2 separate regions of the Homo sapiens genome follow, and region 1 is linked to region 2. The links are contacts of gene promoters, found by promoter capture Hi-C in human tissues and cell types (Jung and others, 2019). All regions are on one chromosome and are shown on one strand. The core of a region is centred on a gene start or on the middle of the fragment in contact, and the rest is flanking DNA. Distances in the headings are between cores, read along the strand shown. Region 1 has its middle 280 kb from the start of ETV1. Region 2 holds the start of ARL4A (ARF like GTPase 4A).

What was found. Contacts are between HindIII fragments. The study calls those that stand out against the background at their distance.
Region 1: a contact is called between a fragment that was not itself captured here and the fragment with the promoter of ARL4A in region 2, in 1 of the 25 tissues and cell types used here (lymphoblastoid cells).

What each region holds. Positions count from the first base shown.
Region 1 is chr7:13,705,784-13,709,446 of GRCh38, reverse strand. No RefSeq gene overlaps it. Among named protein-coding and RNA genes, the nearest start is that of ETV1, 280 kb to the left of the region's middle. The HindIII fragment of the contact is 4,081 bases long and covers 1-3,355 here.
Region 2 is chr7:12,686,021-12,689,701 of GRCh38, reverse strand. ARL4A (ARF like GTPase 4A) reads right to left here and starts at 2,069. Exons shown (of 2, transcript NM_005738.5): 1 at 1,974-2,069; 2 at 1-1,536. The coding sequence starts at 1,447. The coding sequence ends at 845. It also overlaps the pseudogene LOC100505995. RefSeq lists silencers at 2,505-2,554, 2,755-3,034 and an enhancer at 2,024-2,560. The HindIII fragment of the contact is 5,802 bases long and covers 277-3,681 here.

The DNA.
Region 1 (3,663 bases), core at 66-2,565, 1.0 Mb before region 2:
AAAATGATTTGCTATTTTTCCAATTGCTAGACCAATTATTAATTTAAACTAGAGCTATATTTTTATGACAATTACCATAGAATAAGATGGATAAATGATATTTTTATCTACTATTTGATCAAAATTCAATGTGCAAAATGTTAACAAAATAACCTTTAGAAATATGACATTCCTAATCACATTCCATAGCACTGAGATTCCAAATTACTTTAATCAACTAAGCAACATCAAAGTGAAAGTAACAGATTAAATGGAAATTAGAGTGCTTTAATGTAAAGATCTTTTGAAGTTACAAATAAACGGACCTATGAGAAAGGAAAAGAGGCAAAGTAAGAGAGAAAATAAGCTGCTGCCATACCTAATTTCAGGGAATAAAAAATTACCTACTAGAGTAATCTCAAATATTTTAATTTATGGTAAGACTTGAACTATATGAAAAGTAGCATATAATTTCTCTGATCTCTAATATTCTTTCTATATGTAACAGTTAATTTTAGGCTTTTCTTTAAAAACTCTAAACACCTCCAGCTGGTTTTGTAACTGGTCAGTAATTTGGTTAGCAACAGTGACGCTGAAGCTGTCTCCTGTTGGATATAATCATGAACATCTCTTCCACACGTTGTATGCAGTATAAAGGTCATCATGGGAATATTTTCACCATGGATATAAGCAAAAGCTATAAATAAGGCTTCTCTGCCACCCCAGAGAGCCAAGTATAATACATTTACCATCATTAGAACTGACTAGCAGGTACAATAGATGCATACTCTGTCACTGACAGTAAAATATAGTATCTTCGTTATGCTTAGAATCTTTCAAAGTAAATTCTAATGAAATTTATAGCAAGATATTGGTAGAACCTTCTCACTCAATGATGGCTGGAGAAAACCAAACAAAACAAGGCCACTACTCAAGCAATGGAGAGAAAAATTTTCTAGACTTTAAAAATATTTTGTCAAAAATTTTCTTAGGCACCTGTACGTTTCTTTCCTTCTGCATGCAAACAATGCCATGTTTTAAAGTTTCTAAAGAGAAATTATAAGTTTGTTAATTGTTTCATATTACAGAATTAAGATTTAAGGCTGGCTGATAACCTTAAATACAGTAGCAATAGGGATGTCATTTCCAACAACAACATTGGCTATATAATGGAAATAAAGGTCTAACATAGGTGATCTGTGAAAACTATATAGTTCTGAAACTATGTATGCTTTGTTCAGGAAAAAAAGCTTTGAAATTTTCTTAAGCGTAGTAAATTTTGTTTATTGATAGCAGTATTTTTTTAGTTAGTTCTATGACTACGTGGATCCTTGGAGCTACGTGCGGTGTGTTTGGATGCTTTTCGGCATTCATTTCCTCATGTGTGGTATGTGTTTGTGTTTGTATTTGTGTGTATGGTTTGGTTAGAAGTTTTTCCTGTAGGAGAAGCCTGCTATAACTCATGGATCGTAATGTTAGAAGTTCTGTGTTCATGCTTAATTGAAGAATGTGCTAATGCACTCATACCAAAGAGCCAGAATTAAATTTTCCATAGAAAATGGCATACTCCTGTGTGGTAGTTAAATCTTTCCTGTTGATTTATGAGTATAAACCCATGACTTTGACATTATAATGTTTCGAAGTTACTTATTGTATAGTTTTGTCTAATTTTAAAACTAATAGTAATTTTAAAAACTACTGACCTATATAGTCACAAGTTTTCAGGTAAGGGGAAAGCATCATTCAGAATTCTGAAACATAAAATCATTTGTGGAAGTGCAAATTGGTAGACAATTATATATAAATAACTGCAAATGTATGCATGGCATAGAAATGCATTCTTAGAAAATATCGGTGATTGACATAATCATTTGTGCATAAAATGTTTTTAAACACATTGTGAGACAAGTAAAAGAAATAAGGAGATAAGCTAAACATTGAAAAATGGAAATCAGTTAAGTTTTAAAATTTGTATGGTGGAAAATTATAGAGGCAAGTTTTAAAAATGGAGGTAATGTAAAGATGGCTTTAGAATGTAGACTCTGAAGATAAGCATAGGTTTGAACTCCAACTTCATCATCTTTTGACTTTGACCTTCAGCAAGTCAATTCAAAGCTTTAGATCCCTGAAGTATAAAAGATCGTTTAGATGAGTAAGAACAAAATATGTGTGTGTGTATATATATATATATATATATATGTCTTTAACATTGTTCATTAAGTGCATATCATAAGCATTTAATGAACAAGAGGTGTTATATAGCTTATTTTTAATATTTAGATATATAATTAAAGGCTATTAAATATGAAAAATGTTATAAATATAAACACAAGCTATAAAATGATAAGTATAGTATGGATGCAAATGTTTGCATTTAATAATGTGTACATATGCTTTATTTCAGAAGGTATACTATTCAAATATGTTTCAAAAGGATGGGAAAATATTTTAAAAATGGTAGTAGAATAAATAATTGAAGTTTTTTTTCTTAAACACTTCTTTACTTTCTACTCTTGACAATGAGCATGTATTATATAATGAAAAAGTAGAAATCTTCAAGAAAAAGATAGTTTTTTGATGTATGTATTCCAACTTTCTTTGGTACATTTTTTTACAGAGGAGGACTTGATTTGAATACAAAAACAAAAATTCTAGTATTAATAACTGCTTGAAAATAAACAAAACATTTTTTGTAAAATTCTTAAGATGTGAATTTAAAAATTCTCTAAATCATAGAAACTTTATGACAAAAGCTACTTGATATTTTATACTTGTACAGGTTTGGCCTTAGCTAAAGTTATAAATAATTGTTTGTCACATACTTAACACAAAGCAAACTTGTTATAAAGATTTACTATTTTATTTTACAAGTTCTTGTTAAATTCACCCTTTCTAATCCAGTCTGCAGTATTGGAGAAAGCAATGGCATAAGATGAATGAGAAAGCATAATCACGTGTTCACTGATGGCTCACGAACCGGGCAGATGACTTAGTGTAGTTGGATTTGCCTTTATCAAGAGTGAAGCTAGAAGGTTTGATAAAATAATTGCATAAATCTTCAAGGATAATATTTTTCTTCTCATTCAAGTTAACATGTAATCCGAAAAGGACCATCTACAGTGTGCATTCTAATTTCCAAGAAGTAGAAAAAGGTGTCTGAGACAAGGTTTTCAGAGTAACTTCAATGTTTTTATGTTACTGGTAGAGGAACATTTTTCAGTGACAAACTGTTATAATTTATCAAATTATTGAATTTTCTAACTGGAAACAATTTAGTATGAAATCCAAATGTCTCACTTTGCAGATGAGGAAATGGAGACCCAGGGTGATAAAGTGACTCACCCAAGGATGCACAGCTAATGGCAGGATGCTGCAGGGGCCTGGGGCTACCCAGAAGCTAAGGCCTGGTTTTTTTTTGTTAGTTTGTTTTTCATTTTCTTTCCCAAGTACCTCACACATTTTTCTAATTAAATCTTTATTTTTATACTCCAGGTGTCTTCTAACAAAAGGTATAGCTAACAAAGGTATTTAAACTGTCTACTTAAGAGTTTTTGCAAATGCAAACTTAAAACAAATAGCCATGCAACAATTTGGAGATGAGTTTATCTTTCACTTGAACATGCAGCTGCACAGCTGAACTCTGAACTTCTATAAGTGGATTTTGCACACGTAGATCCTCGGTTC
Region 2 (3,681 bases), core at 820-3,319:
TTAGTTTACATGCCCATATTTACTATGAATGAGTCAATCATTTTAGGTTCTTCAAGTGAAAGTGCTTCTGACAACAAACTATTCCTATAATAGCCCTAAATCCCCAAAAAAGTTGTTTTAAACCTGTGTAGAACGATGCATAGCTATTTCTAAAAAGTAAGACTACACACCAAAACATGCTTTGTCAGGAAAACTAATCCATGCACTTGAATATACCCCAAATATCTTATTTTTAATAAAGGTAGACCAACTTAAACATTGTCTAGAATTAAGCTATACTATTAAATTACTTGATTCCAGAAAGCGTCAAAAATCATTTGGCAGAAACTTAAAAAAGAAAATACTTACTCCTTGTCCCTTACTTCAAAAAAGGACTGGTTGGACCAATGTGATCAATATAACTGCATATATGTTAATCTACCTTAACATTTCCATCGATTAGCACTTGATCGTTACAAAGCCTTGTATGCAATTTTCTTGCAAAGGCTTCCCCCCGAAAGATGTAAGCACAAAACACTAGGCAGACACTCTTTAAAGTTTTATTTCACTAACTTCAGACCAAATTCCCACAACTGTGTTCTGGTCAATTTACTATCCTTGCTTGGCTTCCCCAAATGGTAGTACCAAAAGATTTGTGGGGTAGGGAGAAGAGACCACTTTAAGAAGCACTGCATTTACTCATCTTCCACAAGGCAACAGAGTTGGGCATCTGATTGTTCAACAAAACAAAGCTTTAATAGCATCCAGGAGGGCAGACAGGCAAACCACGCTGTAGACACTCTTCTATTTGTCAAAATCAGACCAGAGAAAACCTACTCCACACAGATATAATAGGTATTGATATTCATCTTTTCTTTTTCTGTTGCCGCAACATTTTTCTTCTTTTAATGATCATATCATGTAGTTTCTCAAGTCCTTCCTTTAGGCCATCTCCTATGATTGCACAGGTAGGCTGCAAATGCCAAGGAGTTGATGAGCTCAGTTCACCCATTGCTAACAATTTCTCAATTTCTGAAAGTGACAATGAGTTCCTCAAATCTTGTTTGTTAGCAACTATAAGTACAGGGACTCCCTGATTTTCTGATATCCTAGTTATTTTGTGAAGTTCAGTTTTGGCTTCTTCCATCCTTTCGACATCAACAGAGTCCACAACAAATACAATGCCATCTGTGCATCTGGTATATGACTTCCACAGTGGCCTTAATTTCTCCTGACCACCTACATCCCAGAAGTGAAAAGTGACTGTTTTAGAATTTCCCAAGGTTACCTTAATTTTCTCAGTGTTAAATCCTTTGGTAGGTACGGTATTTACAAATTCATTGAACTGCAGCCTGTATAAGACAGTTGTCTTTCCAGCACAGTCCAAACCCAGAATAACAATGTGGAAAGACTGAAATGAAGGCAGGTTGGACAGGATAGAAGTCTGGTCTGACAGCCCATTCCCCATTTCCAGGTGCAAATAAATGTCCCAAATTGAAATGCTTTTCTCTTCTTGGTTTACAACTTCTCTTGGTAGCTGATCCAGCTATAAGACTGCTGGGAGACGGAAGAAGGAATAAGTTATTCTCCCGAAATAATACATTAAAACAGGTTTGCTCTACTTTGCTAAAATAAACAACACGAAGAACTTACTATAACTTGCTGCGCTAAACAAACCAGACGAGATATGAAACGTACATGAAAACACACACAGTCCAAGACAAACGATGGAATAACAGTGATTGAAATTATCTGGTTTACTTAAATTGCAGTAATATGTACGTTTTTCTCCTGGGTCCCCAAACCTCAAAGACCTCATTCTGGAAAGAACCCAGTCACCAGTATCTGGTCTAAGTGGCCGTAACCACAAAGTGCCTATCTGGCAGAAAACTCATAGCAGATAGTCCTATCTTCGGAATCTAATTCCACATGCTTAACAGCATACCCAAGATCACTATTACCTCCTACCCCTTGCAAAATAACAACGTTCTCACCTCCCGATCTGGAGTCTGGGTCCAAATGAGAAAGCATTGGCAGGCGTTTCTACGCAGGGATAAGCACCCTTCCAGCTTAGCTCTCCAAGCAGCTCTGGCAGTTGCCGCACGAGAAACCTTGGACTCAGACTCCGACCACGCCCACTCCTCCCGGTCCACTCATGATCCCAAATCCCATTGGTCACCCGCATCAGGGAAGCCATGCAACTCCCGCCCCCGCTCCCTAATTGGTGAGGGTAACTGCCGCTCCCAGCGCGGCGGAGCTGAGCTCTCTCTCGGTCCACCGGCACCACCTGTTGCCCTTAAGTTAGAAAAGGCGGCGTTCCCAGAGGGAGCCGAGCAGCCGCTGCAGGTGAAGGGGAGCCTCGGGCGGTCAGGTCGCCGCCAGGCTGCCGGCTCCGTTCGGCCCGGCGCACCTGCAGCGCAGCCAGGGCGTCAAGCCAAGGCTCTCACATCCGGGGCCCGCAGTCACTGCCAACGCGTTAACCCTTTGTCCGCGGGCCCGAGGGTGCCGGCTGTTGCCGCGCGGGCCCCTGAGGCGCTAGAGATCCCACCTGGCGCGCCCGCCGGGATAAGCCCATCCTCCCCGAAGTGGGATCCCTTCACCCTGTCCCTCCGCACACGACCGGCTCTTCTCCCTCGGCAGGGCGTGGCCGCCCCGGCCGCCCACCCCGCCGCGGCTCACCTGACTAACCGTCCTTCCCTCTTCTTCATTCAGCGTCTCTCCCAGCCGCTGGGGAGGCGCGCTGATACCTGTTCCCTGGCACCAGGGAGGCGTGGGCGATGGCAGAGGACTGGGCGCCTGGCGGGCGCCGCGCGCCAGGCTGCCCTAACGGTGCTCGCCCGGCAGCTCCACGCGACAGTCCCCGCCCCCTGCCCGCGCGCCGCCCGGGCGCCGGCCTGTAGGGGGCGCGCAGGAGCCGCGTCTCCTAGCAACGCCAAAACAAGGTCGAGTTCGAATCGGCCTAGCGCTGGCTGCCCGCGAGGTCGGATGGGACTTCCGGCCTCACCCCTGAACGGTTGCTCCGGGTAGCTCTGTCTGCGGCGGCCCGCCAGCCTGGCACAGGCCCCGCCCGGCACCGCCTTCCCTCACGTCGTCTAGGGCGTCCGCGGGGCAGCAGCCACGTGATTCGCGGTTAGGGATTCCATAGTTCACGGGTTACGGCACACACGCGTTACGTATATATCGAGGTGACGTGGAAGTCCCCCAGTAGTTGACCTTAAACAGCCTGGGTTGACTGGCCTGGTAACTGCGCCTTCATTCGCTTTTTGTAGAGCAAATGAACGCGCTGTCTCACGTGTTTCTAGCAGCATCCCGGGGAACTGGCCACAGATAGAAATATTCCAGTTTGACACATAAGGAAATACACTCTGAAAGATGAAAGGGATGTTTCTTTTTTTCTTTTCTTTCAAATTGCTCACACAATTTTAATTGCAATAGATATAATTTCCAATATACCATTCAACTACACCATTTGTATGTGCTGGAGTGAGACAGGAGTATTTTGATTGAGTGTCCAGTTCTCTTTAAAACTAGCGTTTGCAGTTAACGACTTGGAAAATACAACACAAAAAGCCATCTAGCCTTTTTTTTTTTTTTAATCTCTATTTATCCCTTCAAAATTCCCTTTGTGGCCATATACATACTAGGTGGCTCTACCTGCAGAAAGCTGCATTTTCCAAGCAGCGGGAGAGTTTAATTCTTAAC